3 separate regions of the Homo sapiens genome follow, and all the other regions are linked to region 2. Evidence: promoter capture Hi-C in human tissues and cell types (Jung and others, 2019). All regions are on one chromosome and are shown on one strand. The core of a region is centred on a gene start or on the middle of the fragment in contact, and the rest is flanking DNA. Distances in the headings are between cores, read along the strand shown.

What was found. Contacts are between HindIII fragments. The study calls those that stand out against the background at their distance.
Region 1: a contact is called between a fragment that was not itself captured here and the fragment with the promoter of CDC14B in region 2, in 1 of the 25 tissues and cell types used here (dorsolateral prefrontal cortex).
Region 3: a contact is called between a fragment that was not itself captured here and the fragment with the promoter of CDC14B in region 2, in 2 of the 25 tissues and cell types used here (hippocampus and mesendoderm cells).

What each region holds. Positions count from the first base shown.
Region 1 is chr9:96,196,207-96,200,350 of GRCh38, reverse strand. No RefSeq gene overlaps it. Among named protein-coding and RNA genes, the nearest start is that of HSD17B3-AS1, 48 kb to the left of the region's middle. The HindIII fragment of the contact is 4,301 bases long and covers 377-4,144 here.
Region 2 is chr9:96,617,825-96,622,200 of GRCh38, reverse strand. It overlaps CDC14B (cell division cycle 14B), which reads left to right and starts at 2,358. Exons shown (of 14, transcript NM_033331.4): 1 at 2,358-2,982. The coding sequence starts at 2,823. RefSeq lists an enhancer at 2,707-3,207. The HindIII fragment of the contact is 32,033 bases long and covers 1-4,376 here.
Region 3 is chr9:96,287,485-96,292,055 of GRCh38, reverse strand. All of the region lies in intron 2 of HSD17B3 (hydroxysteroid 17-beta dehydrogenase 3), which reads left to right. All of the region lies in intron 17 of SLC35D2-HSD17B3 (SLC35D2-HSD17B3 readthrough), which reads left to right. Among named protein-coding and RNA genes, the nearest start is that of HSD17B3, 12 kb to the left of the region's middle. RefSeq lists an enhancer at 2,229-2,779. The HindIII fragment of the contact is 4,737 bases long and covers 7-4,571 here.

The DNA of each region.
Region 1 (4,144 bases), core at 1,278-3,777, 420 kb after region 2:
ATGTACAGCATTATAAAGACATATACGATATTTATTTATTTATTTGAGACAGAGTCTCATTGTGTCACCCAGGCTGGAGTACAGTGGCATGATCTCGGCTCACTGCAACCTCCGCCTCCTGGGTTCAAGCAATTCTCCTGCCTCAGCTTCCCGAGTAGCTGGGATTACAGGCGTGCGCCATCACGTCCGGCTAACTTTTGTATTTTTAGTAGAGATGAGGTTTCATCATGTTGGCCAGGCTAGTCTCAAACTCCTGACCTCAGGTTATCCGCCTGCCTCAGCCTCCCAAAGTGCTGGGATTACAGGCATGAGCCACTGCACCCGACCCATATACAATATTTAAAAGGGCATACAGTAAACAGTCAGTTACCTTCCTACTGCTGTCTCCAACCAGCCTCCATCAGTCACCTTGCTCTCCAACCAGATATGACCTGCATCCACACAGACACATGTGCATGTGTGCATGGGTGTCCGTGTCTACGTATGGAAGAACACAAATGGTAGCGTGCTATATTCACTCTTTTGCAGTTGTCATCATTTACCTTAACAGATTCCTTTGGGACTGATATTGAACTACTGAATAGATGAGCCCAACCAGGAAGTCCTCTTCTGTGAATGCCACGGCTGGGAGCAGCTAGTCTGAGCCTGGTTTGCTCTGCACGTCACGTATTCCAATTGCTGAAGGAAAGGAATGGTTACACATTTATTCCTCAATTTTCTTTCAGCTTTTCTCTTCAGCTCCTGTGTTAACTTCTGTGTTTCATGTTTACTTGCATCTCCTGTCTTCCCTTTATTTTCTGCCCATGATGACATTGCCTCTTCTTCACTCATGCACTCTCTGTCTCAACTTGGCTTCCTAAGAGCTCTTCTTGCTGCCTCTGACACACTCTCATTTCTTTCTGGTGATTTTTCTTCTCCCTAAAGAATGAGTTCAGCTTTTCATGAGGCAGCTCCTTCACATCAGTGATTGACACAAGATGTTTTTACTGGTAATTAAAGATCTCTCTTTTTGGTAAAATATATTAGTCCAGGAAGGTTCTGCTTGGAGATGATGTTATTTCTGGTCTGTCGGGAGTGTTGCTCAGCCATCCAGCCTCCCAGCTGAGTGGAACAGAAGGAAGTGAAAGGACTTGCCCAGCATGTTAAAGAGAGCCAGCACATAGGTGACATCAGGATGCCTCACTGGCTCACCCCTCTACCCAACAGCGCACGGCTGCCTGTAAGGAACAGACAGACAGGAAATTGTCCTGGGAGTGAGAAGATGGGAAGATGAGGGGCACCGAGTAAACCTGAGGAAATGCGTGTGAGTGACAGAAGGAAGCTTTGCAGGAAGGCCCAGCCACAAGAAGGAGGCCATGGCAGGAAGCCTTAGGGAGGAAGGCTTTCCTCTATCCCTCCTTCCTGGACCCAGAGCTCATGAGCAATGTGCACAGGTGGCTCAGGGGGTGGCTGTTAGAAGGCAGGGCGGTGGGAGAAGCAGGACCCTTGGGCAGGGTGAGCAGCCGGAGATGGTGCCTCCTTCATGAGAAAACAGGGCAGCTGCGATTGCTGCCCCAGCCGGCTCCTGTCTGGAGGGTGAGAGGGGCTGGTGTGGATGGGAACTTCATCCTTCTCTCAGGGTGCCACCAGGAGAGGGGCTGAAGGCCTCTACAGGAGTGGATTGGTCATGCTGGAGCATGTTCTTCCAGGCTTTGCCTTCCCAGGCACACACACTCACTCCCACTCTCCTGCCCCTGCCCTGTTTTCTCCTTAGCACTTGTCACCTGCTAACATGCTGTTGTCCTCCTTACTTTGTTTTGTTATTATTTTAAAAGTACTTGCCACCTTCCTTCATTAGAGTATAAGCTCCACCAGGGTGGAGGTTTTTTGTCTGTTTTTGTTTTTTTTCTCCATTTTGTTCACTGCATCTCCCCAGCACTTAGGACAAGGCCTGGCATGTAGCAGGTGCCCATTAAGTATTGTTGGACGAATGAATGAATGAGGACAGTTCTGATGAGGACACTTTGTGATGTAACCCAGGGCAGGGAGGCCATGGATGTGTCCTTAGCAAAATGATGCCAAGCTTATTATTTCCTAGGAAATATGGCCAACATCACAGTAGTAGAAGGGATGTGATCTCTCATACAGATAAGAAAGGAGCATCTTAGGAATGAAATCAGGCCTCCCGTGGTGTGATGTTTGCTTCTGGCTGTTTTTGGAGCAAGCTGGCCACAGCTGGATAGAAGCAGCCACGTTCCACTCGGCTCCCTCTGAAGTCAAAGGCAAGCCCCGAGCCCACTAGTCTCCTGAGCAGAGCCTCTCAGCAGGAGGAAGACAGAGGAGCCCAAAGCCCTGGGCTTCCTCATCTGAAGAGAGGGACAGATATTTTGGGAGAAGAGAAAACTAGGCTAGGGAGTAGGTTCCCCTTAGGAGCTCTGCCTGCATTCTGGAGAGAGGCTGGCGGTCACCGCGATGCTTCCCGTGTGGCCTTGGGAGAAAGCAGACTTCCTCAGAGGAAGGTATTCCGGGCTGCAGGTTTGATTTTCTCTTCTTTCCAGCTCCAGAATTTGTCGGGGCAAATTCTGGCTGCCTCCGGTTTCTGTCTAGCTCTTGCACGGCAGCCTCTGCAGTCACCCTCAGGCTTCCTGGCCTGGCCCAGCCCCTTGTGGCTCCTCTGCGTCCCCCCACCCCACTTTTTTCTTTAATTTGTGACAGACTCTCACTCTGTTGCCCAGGCTATGGCAAGGCAGTGGTACTATCTTTGTTCACTGTAAGCTCGACCTGTCAGGCTCAGGTGATTCTCCCACCTCAGCCTCCTGAGCAGCTGGGACTACAGGCACCCGCCACTACACCAGGCTAATTTTTGTATTTTTAGTAGAGATGGGTTTCGCCATGTTGCCCAGGCTGGTCTTGAACTCCTGGACTCAGGCAATCCTCATGCCTCGGCCTCCCAAAGTGCTGGGATTACAGGCATGAGCCACTGCGTCCAGCTCTCTGACTTCTTTTCCCAGCCCTCCCCCAGTCTCTGCGAGGCTTGCAGTCTGTGATACACCAATTTCCCCAAACCCTCAATCCACTCCTCACGTCCTTGTTGAGTGTGGCATTTGTGGGACCTGGCCTACCCCTGAGCACTGAGCCTCCTGCTGGCTGGAGTGGAGGCCCTTGTGACTGACAGTGGAGCTGAGTGGCCTCCCTATCCCTGATTTCTGTTTCTAGACCGTCTCTATCCCTCTCCTGGCCAAAAACCAAGCTATCTAGCCATGCACCGGCCAGCCTCATGGTGACTCCTGGGCCTGGCTTCTTGGTTCCTCTTGGTTACAGACTTCAGCGCCTGACCTCCCTCTTCACCCCCACTCATGTCCTCAATCACAGGGAGTTCAATATCCAAGTAGAGCACCCATCCACCTCCTTGGCTATTTGTCCTTGACATTGTAGCACTAAGGACCCTTTTTCCCCTCCACTGCAACCATCCACTTCCGTGGTCACACACTGAGTCTCATCATTCACAGAAGTCATTTTATCCAAATCTCATTTTCAAGCATTCCATTCTCTGACAAGCACTCCCTGTTGTTCTAGTCTCCTGGCTGCTAAGATTCCTCAATCTCATCAAAGGCTGTAACCCACTAAACCCTACACTTTGCCTGTCAAAGGCTTCCCCTAACTCATTCTCCAGTTAGATGTCATGGTCATGTGTATTATCATTCCCTTCAAGAAAACCTCTGTGCCCCTTCCTGGCTGTCCTCTGTCCTGCATGTGGCAGGCTGTATTTTCCAAAGGTGATCCTTCTACCCACTCCTCCACAATGTGACCTTGCTATTTCCCATTGAGAAGTGGAGTCTGATTCCTTGCCCTTGAATCTGGACTGGCCATATGACTTCATTATATCTAAAAGAATGCAGTGGGCTGGGCATGTTGACTCACACCTATAATCCCAGCACTTTGGGAGGCCAAGGTGGGAGGATTGCTTGAAGCCAGGAGTTCGAGACCAGCCTGGGCAACATAACAAGATCCTGTCTCTACAAAAGTAAAAATAAAATAAAATAAAAAATAAAATAAAATAAATAAAAATAATGCATTAGAAGTAACAGCACTAGCTTGGAAATGGCCCCACAGCTGTCCCCTGGTCCCTCTGGGATTCTTACTCTGGGGAAATCAGCCAATCAAG
Region 2 (4,376 bases), core at 1,109-3,608:
CAGTTGTTTTCATTTCAGGGTAAATTTACCTAGGAAAGATAGGAATATTTTAGAGAATCCCTCCTTTTTTTTTTTTTTTTCCTTTTCATTGTGCTGCCATAATGTTGAGAATCAACCAGACGCATCTGTTCCCTAAGCGCCACAGTTCAGGAAAAGACAAGCCAGATCCTAGAGAGTTTTGGTTCCCACCCCAGCCTGGCCACTGCCACTCATCTGGGTCCCCGTGTCCTCACTGTGAAAGGATAGCCTTGGACCAAATATTGTCTAAGGAGCTTTCAAGCTCTAAAATTCTATGATGAGTCGTCAAGCAATGAACAACAAACTAACCAGGGAAGCAAACTAAAATACATTTCCTGTGGCCAAATTCTCAGAGCCCAGGAGTCAACTTATCAAAGAGGGGGAGGAGTCAAACAGTTCAAGAGCAGTGCCACACACACAAAACAAGTATCAGCTAGGAAACAGCACTTTTCTGCCTCTATCTAAACATGACCTAAAAACAAAATATAAATAGGGTTTAAAACTTTAATGTGTATACTCAGCACACAGACTTCCTATTCACAAGAAGGGAAGATACTTTCGCGTAATTACAAAGTGTAGTCCTATACTTTGTCTGTTCCTACTATACAAAGCATAAAATTATATACTTGCAAAGTATGAAAATATTTAAATGGTATAATTATCTGTATTTATGACACTTTTTTTTTTTTTTTTCTGAGACGGAGTCTAGCTCTGTCACCCAGGCTGGAGTGCAATGGCACGATCTCGGCTCACTGCAACCTCTGCCTCCTGACATTTAAACAAATTACTCTCAAAAGATCATAATGTCATGGAGGTAGTTTCTCTGTACTTCCAGGGAGCCACACGGACCACTCTCCTGTAATATCTATTCAAAACAAGACCCACTCATTTAAAATCCCTGGTAGTCTGGGAAACTGGGTGGCTTTCCAATGCTGAGCCCCTAGGCCGGTCTGAAAGGTCTCCTCCTCCTCCTCCAGGTCAAAACAAAGGACTGTGACCCTACCGTTTCTGCTCTCTAAAACTTACTTGCGCAGCGCCGCACAGCCTCCCACGTCTCTAGCTTCTTTGCTGCCCCTACAGACAGACATGTAGATCATTTTAAATTTAAGGCCTTCACTGATTTCCTTAGGGGAAACAGAGGAAGAGTGAACAGGAGAACCAACCTTAAGAAAAAGTGCTTACAGAGTTGCTGATCTCTAGCTTCAGACACAGCCCCCCTACTTCCTTATTTAGCCGTGCTTAAGGTAAAAGCCCACAACAATAGAAGTCAAAGAGCCCCTTCCTGAGGTGCTCTATGAAAATTTGCATTTCTGAGAGGCTTCCAAGGGGACTGACTCAAATTCATCTTTCTTTTCCCCAGGCTGGCAGTTAACTGCGGAACTGCAGGATAAAACGTTCAAGTGCTGGTGAAAAATAGGGACAGCTTGCAGATGTTGTAAAATTTGGGGCCGTGAAATCTTAACACTGCCCTCCAATCTTCTCACCCTTTTAGATGCTACCATGGACGTTTGTTTAAAGGCCCTCCAAAATGACAGTTTTTGGTTAAGTTCCAGGAAGATAGGGCATTATTTTAATCCAGTAGAAAAAGAAGAGGATATGACCCTACAGTGTGCCAGATAAAGAAGTTTAAGGACAAAACTTGCCCCTTGCTTCAATACTTCATGATATAATCGGACCTGTCGACACCTCAGTATACACAGCAATGAGTGTATAAACTTACTGAATTAATGTGGGCGCTGGATTCCGAGATGAGAAACTCTGAGGTGCAAACAACCACGGTATATTGTGGTTCCACGGAAGTTTCATCGGGTCCTTAAGAAGCCCTTGCTTGGCCTGTTTGAATGCTGGGCATAGGTCGATAAATAGAGCGTAGTTGTTTAAATAGTTTTACTTAAGTTCTGAAATCAACTCTACTTTAAATCTATATAGCTGCAGGTAATGTAATCAGGCCATCCTCTTCCAAGCTGGCAGCCATGGCAAAAGTCCCTTTCTCTTGGCGCGAATTACAAGGAAATTCAAGAAATACTTTAAGATATATATATGCCAAAGACCTGGAGTTAAGTTACTAGGGTGGGGCTGTGTAAATGTTTGGTGACTCACTAAAGAAAGTTGGGATCTGGGGTGCTGGCACCTGGAGGACACAGAAGAAACAAAAGTTGGGGGGCTGGCGAAGGTCGCTAGCACACTTTATCTCTGATTGGCGGAAGCCCTCAGAGTTTTCTTTATGGCGTCACCGAGTACCTGCCTGTAGAAAGGCCCCGTCTCCGTGACGTCACGCCGCATTGGCCAATGAAAGGCCTCAGTCTGCGGGCCCCGAGGAGGGTTGTGGGCCCTTTTTTGTGAATGAAGCGCCACGGAACAGCCCTCCTGGGGTCCCCACGAGCCGCGTCCTGCTGTGCCCCGGCGCCTACGCAGCAGCGGCCGCGGCCGCGGTGGGCACGCACGGTTACCCCGGGCAGCTCCGGCCGCCAGCTGCAGCCCCGTCGCCTCGGCCGCGCCAGCCGGCTGCGGGCACCTGGGGGCGGGCTGGGGGCGCCGGCCGCGGCAGGAGGCGCTGTAGCGAGGGCTGCGGCGCCGGTCCTGCGGCGGCCGCGGGAGGCAGCGGGGCAGGCGCTGTGGGCCGGGCTCCTCCTCCGGCTCCTGCGCGACCGCCTCCCGCCGGGCTCTGCCGGCGCCCGCCGTCCCCGCAGCGCCGCTCTGCGCCCGCCGCCCCGAGCGCCCGCGCGGGGCTGGCGGGAGCCTCGGCGGGCGCGCGGGCGCGCGGGGCCATGGTCGTGGCCCCCTGACGGGCCGCGGCCGCCTCCATGAAGCGGAAAAGCGAGCGGCGGTCGAGCTGGGCCGCCGCGCCCCCCTGCTCGCGGCGCTGCTCGTCGACCTCGCCGGGTGTGAAGAAGATCCGCAGCTCCACGCAGCAAGACCCGCGCCGCCGGGACCCCCAGGACGACGTGTACCTGGACATCACCGGTGAGCCGGCCAGTGGGCGCGCGGAGGGCCCCGGACGGCCGCACCCGGCGCGGGGCCCTGGCCCACCTCCCACCGGGCTGCCCGGGGCCTCCGGGGCCGGGCCGAAATGCCTTCGCCCCCACCCCCTTAAACGCCCCGGCCGCCACACCCCCTTTAGGAGCCTGGCTCCTGAGGAGCGCCCCCCGCCCCGAGTTTCTAGCTGCGTGGGCTGCGAGCTTTAACTTTAGCTTGTGCACCCTCCTCCACCAGCAAGATGGACCGAGGGTCACCTTTCTAAGTTGCGGGCGTCAGCCCGGCGCCTCGAACCTGCAGCTCCTCCCCGCGGGCTGCTTCTGAGTTCCTGTGGATTCCGCCTTCAGGGATTGCGAGCCCGGTTGGCCCTCGCGCGAGTCACAACCTCTGAATCAGCCCCTGAGGATTCCCCGAGCGCGCTGAACGCGCCTGGCACGGGAGCTGCCCCTTTTTGGCGTTGGCCAAACCCCCGCTGCTCCGTAGCCTTGGGACCCTGGGCGCCGCGTTGCCCGTCCGGCGCGTAAGCCCGAGCCCCTCTCCTGGGCCTCCCGCGCCCTGCCCCCTAGCGCGCCCCCCGAACGCCTCCGCCTCCCGGGGTCCGCTCCCCGCCGGGGCCTCGAGAAGGAAGGTGTCACGTTGGTGGCATTCGAGCCAGCCGGCAAGACGAATGTCCGGGTTGTCACTTTTGAGAAATCCCAGCCAGCCAGAGCAGGTAGCCAAGCAGCCCTTCGATAGCTGTTCTGTTAGTGCTGATTCGACTGTTCTTGGAGACTCATAAATCCAATTTGGCAGCTGTTAGGTTTGCTGGGATTGACAGTGACGCGTGTGAAGGCATTAAATGTGATGATGTATGTGGCAACGCTGTGTAAACAGCAGAGCTGTCCACGATTTTGAGGGAATTGGCAGTCTGTTTTCAGTGGCGGGGAATGTGTCAACCTCGGTGCGTGGCGTTATTAAAAACTGTTTCCAGCCCCTAGCCTTTGATAAACCAGGTAAGCTGGAGTGGCGAGAACATTAAGTGGAAGTGTTTAGACAAACACAGACGTTTAGGAGAAATAATATTCTAGGTTCATGGACAATCTGGAAACTAAGTTCGTTTTGAAATGAAGCTGAGAGCAGAGCGGGTTTCTCGGCTTTGGTGGATGGCCCTTGGGAACCAGAGCGGGCATAGGAAGGGGTTGCCCTGAGTACCAGTCCCCGGCCGGTAGCTGCGGGGGGTGTGCGGGAGGTGAAGCCTGCTGAGACTGAGAAGCCAAGTCCCGCTAACGTTGTGCCCTTCCCAGGAGAGGGCCTCGCCGAGGACGGATGGGGCTGGGAACGGGTGGGCCTATACATAGTTTCTGCCCGTTATTGTTTATACCTCTTGAAAGGATCTGTGTTGA
Region 3 (4,571 bases), core at 1,126-3,625, 330 kb after region 2:
CTTCCTTACATCTTCTATTTCTTTGCAGAGATTTTTCTATTTTTGCCATTTGTTTTGTGTGTTTATAATGGTTTATTGAACTTTTTTTTTTCTTTTTTTGAGATGGTGTCTCACTCTGTCACCTAGGCTGGAGTGCAATGGTGCGATCTTGGTTCACTGCAACCTCTGCCTCCCGGGTTCAAGTGATTCTCCTGCCTCAGCCTCCCAAGTAGCTGGGATTACAGGTGCCCACCACCACGCCCAGCTAATTTTTGTATTTTTAATAGAGACGGGGTTTCACCTCGTTGGCCAGGCTGGTCTCAAACTCCTGACCTCAAGTGATCCGCTTGCTGTGGCATCCCAAAGTGCTGGGATTACAGGCATGAGCCACATCACCCAGCCTACTGAAGCATTTTTATGCTCCAAACCTTGTCAGATAATTCTAATGTCTGTGTCATCTCTATGTTGGCATCTGTTGTTAGTATTTTCTCATTCAGATTAAGATCTTGGTTCTTTGAATGATGGGTGGCTTTTGACTGAATCCTCAACATTTTGGTTTTACGTTATGGGACTCTGGATCTTATTTAAATCTTTGGTTTATATTGGTCCATACTGACATTGCTGTGGGAGGGAGAGGAGGGGGAACTGACTAGTTTCTACCAGGTGGAGTGGGGGCTCAATTCTCCACTTGTGGAGAGCTGCCTACTTCTTACTGTTGGGTGGGGGTGGGGTTCTGGCTTCTTCCTGGGCCTCTGCTGATACCACTCTGGCTGGGAGGGGCAGAAACACTTCTTTACTGCTCTCCACAAGGCCTCCGATGACACTTGGGAGAGGTGGCCTCGTTCCACTGGGCAGTGGTGAAAGTCCTGGCTCTCCATGAGGCCTCCTCTGTTATCATCCCTGGCAAAGGAAGAGGACAAAGAGGGGAAGAGGTGCCTTGTTACTGCCAGGTGGGGGTGGAATTCAGATCTCCACAGACATTCGCGGGGATGGTGGCAGCTGCAATGAAAGTCCCAGGATCCTTGCTACAGAGCCTCACCAGCGTGGAAGACCCAGCTCCCCACCCAGCCTTTACTGGCAGGGGTGTGGGTGGGGTCATAGTTTTTCCCAAGGTGTTTGCTTGGAGTAGACAGTTGCTGTCTAAATGTTTTCTGTCTCACTAGACATCCCCTTTTCTGGTCCTCTAGTTAGAGAGGGCAGGCTTTTGTTGAGACTTTTTTTTTTTGAGACAGAGTTTCGTTCTTTTGCCCGGTCTCACTCTGTCACACAAACTGGAGTGCAGTGGCGCGATCTCGGCTTACTGCAAACTTTGCCTTCTGGTTTCAAGTGATTCTCCTGCCTCAGCCTCCCGAGTAGCTGGGATTACAGGCACCCGCCACCATGCCTGGCTAATTTTTGTATTTTTAGTAGAGATGGGGTTTCACCATGTTGGCCAGGCTGGTCTCAAACTCCTGACCTCAGGTGATCCACCTGCCTTGGCATCCGAAAGTGCTGGGATTACAGGTGTGAGCCACTGTGCCCAGCGAGACTTTTTAATAACTGCATCTGTTGGCATTTCTAAACTGCCAGTTTCTCCAGCAATGTCTGGGATATGTGGAAAAAAAAAAAAAAAAAAAAAAAGCCCAGGAAATACCACAGTGCCCTTCCTCAGGTTCCGAGGCCCCTAAATGAACCTCCTCTCACATCTGGAGTCTTCTTCTCTTTGTTTTATGTATTGTGTCCAGGTTTTTTTTGATGGACTTAATGGTGGGAATAGGGAAAGCACTTCTCCTCCGCCCTTCCAGAAGCTTATTCTTCACTGCATTTAACCGAATCTGCGTTTACATTTAGAGTGGCAGGAGAGGCTTTGCTTCCTGTTAAAAGAATTTCAAGCATTACTTGAGGCAGGTGGGAAAAAATTGTGGAGAGGGATGGGCCTGGGGTGGAGGGAGGAAGAGAGTGGGCCCACTCTTCCATACCTCTGAAGCCACTGCTCACCCTATTTTTCACACCGTTTCCACTCCTGTAGCACCTGAATTCAAGCCCTTTCTTTTATTCTTGGCCACACAGAGGAAGCCCTGTTTTTCCTGGCATTCCCACTACCCGCTGTAGATTAGCAGCTACAAGCACCTTCCTTGACCCAGGCCCCAACATACAGGAGAAGGAAAACAAGGCCCATTCATCCCACGGCAGCCGTTCTGCATCAGGATGGGGCCCCGGCAGTGAATTCTGGGAAAGGGAGGCTTTTGCAGCTTAACTTTCTGAAAAGGGGGTGGCAAAACCTGTGTATGGAGCCTGTCAGCCTGGACATTCTGGAAATAAGATTGAGTCCTGTTCAAGCAGACAAAGGGAACAATGCCAGCCCAGACAACCAAGTGTTCTCGGGCGCCCCCCTCTTGGCCCAGACCACTTCACATGGAACCTCTAAAAGGCCTGTGGCTCTTGAGAGAAACAAGCCCACCAGGCAAAGAGCATCCTTTGTGCTGAAAATGCAAATGGACTTTCATTTATTGGGCAATCTCCTCTTCAGGAGGCTGATGAAGTGAATTGGGAGACAAAGGTGCTTAATTCTTTAGCCATCCTGTTGATGGATTCCAAGACTCAAAAATGGAGGCTAGAGGTGGGGGTAGGGAATTTTCCATGGAGAGAACAAGAGAGAAGACTTGGGGATGTCATTGGCAGGGGTCAGTCTTGAAATAGGACTGTCCTTGGTTTAGTGTTCTTTTTAAAATGAAAAAACATTTTTAATGGACTTTATTTTTTAGAGCAATTATAGGTTCATAGAAAAATTGAGCAGATGGTATAGAGGTTTCCCATAGGCCTTCTGCCCCCACACACGCAGTCTCCCCCATTACCCACTTCCATACACACACACATACACACACACACACACACACACACACACCAGGAAATCAACTGTTTAAAGAAACAATTGATGCAGCATCTAGTGACTGCCTATCTTTTTTTTTTCTGTTTTTGTTTTTTTTTAGGGATAGGGTCTTGCTCTGTCATCCAGGCTGGAGTGCAGTGGTGGGATCACGGCTCATTGCATTCTTGACCTCCTGGGCTCAAGTGACCCTCTCACCTCAGCCTCCTGAGCAGCTGGGACTACAGGCTGTGCCACCATGCTCGGCTAATTTTTTAATTTTTTTTTTTTTTTTGAGACGGAGTCTTGCTCAGTCACCCAGGCTGGAGTGCAGTGGCGCAATTTCGGCTCATTGCGAGCTCCGCCTCCCGGGTTCACGCCATTCTCCTGCCTCAGCCTCCTCAGTAGCTGGGACTACAGGCGCCCACACCACGCCTGGCTAATTTTTTTTGTATTTTTAGTAGAGATGGGGTTTCAACATGTTAGCCAGGATGGTCTCGATGTCCTGACCTTGTGATCCTGCGGCCTGGGCCTCCCAAAGTGCTGGGATTACACGCATGAGCCACCGAGCCTGGCCTAATTTTTTAATTTTAATTTTTGTAGAGATGGTGGTGGTGGTGGGGGTGTCTTGCTGTGTTGCCTGGGTTGGTCTTGAACTCCTGGCCTCAAGTGATCCTCCTGCCTCGGCCTCCCAAGGCTCTAGGATTACAGAAATGAGCTATCTCACTTGGCCTAATTGCTTGTCTTTTTAATGGAGTGAAACCTCACTGTGGAGATTGCAGGTTGGGGGGAACTTGTGACAATACCTTTGTGGTGTTAACACCTTCAGCTCTCCAGAGTCATGGCTGAAAATCACCTGTGAGAGTGAATATAATTGACTTTTTAAAACTTCAGGATCGATGGTGTCATATACATGTGGGTCAGTTTTTTAATCTTGAACAGCTTTTTGAGATATAATTTATATACCATAAAATTCACCCAAGTGTACACTTCAGTAATTTTTAGGAAATTAACCGAGTTGTTTATCATCACCACCATCCGGTTTTGGAACATTTCCATCACTCGAGTAAGATCAGGTACACCTGGTTGCTATTAATCCTGCATTCCTATCCCTAGCCCTAGGCTGCCACTGATCTTTTCTAGACATTTCATATGAAGGTCACCATACAACATGCCGTTCTCCGTGACTGTTTTCTTCCACTTAGCATATTGTTTTGGAGGTTCATCCATATTGTAGCATGTGTCAATAGCTCTTTAATTTTTACTGCAGAATAATATTCCATTGTATGGATATACTCCATTTTGTTTATTCATTTTCCAGTTGACAACTGTTGGAGTTGTTTCCATTTTTTTTTTTTTTTTGGCTATTATGAATAATGCTGCTGTGAATATTGACACTTGAGTTTTTGTGTGGACACTTTTCTCTTTCCTTTGGGTAGATTACCTAGCAGTGGAGTCTCTGGGTTGCAAGGTAAAGTTGTCTTTTTAAAAAATTTTATTTATTTATTTATTTATTTATTTAGAGACGGAGTCTCGCTCTCTTGCCCAGGCTGGAGTGCAGTGGTGTGATCTCAGCTCACTGCAACCTCTGCCTCCCGGGTTCAAGTGATTCTCCTGCCTCAGCCTCCCTGGTAGCTGGGACTACAGGCGTGTGCCACCATGCCTGGCTAATTTTTTGTATTTTTAGTAGAGATGGGGTTTCACTGTGTTAGCCAGGATGGTCTTGATCTCCTGACCTCGTGATCCG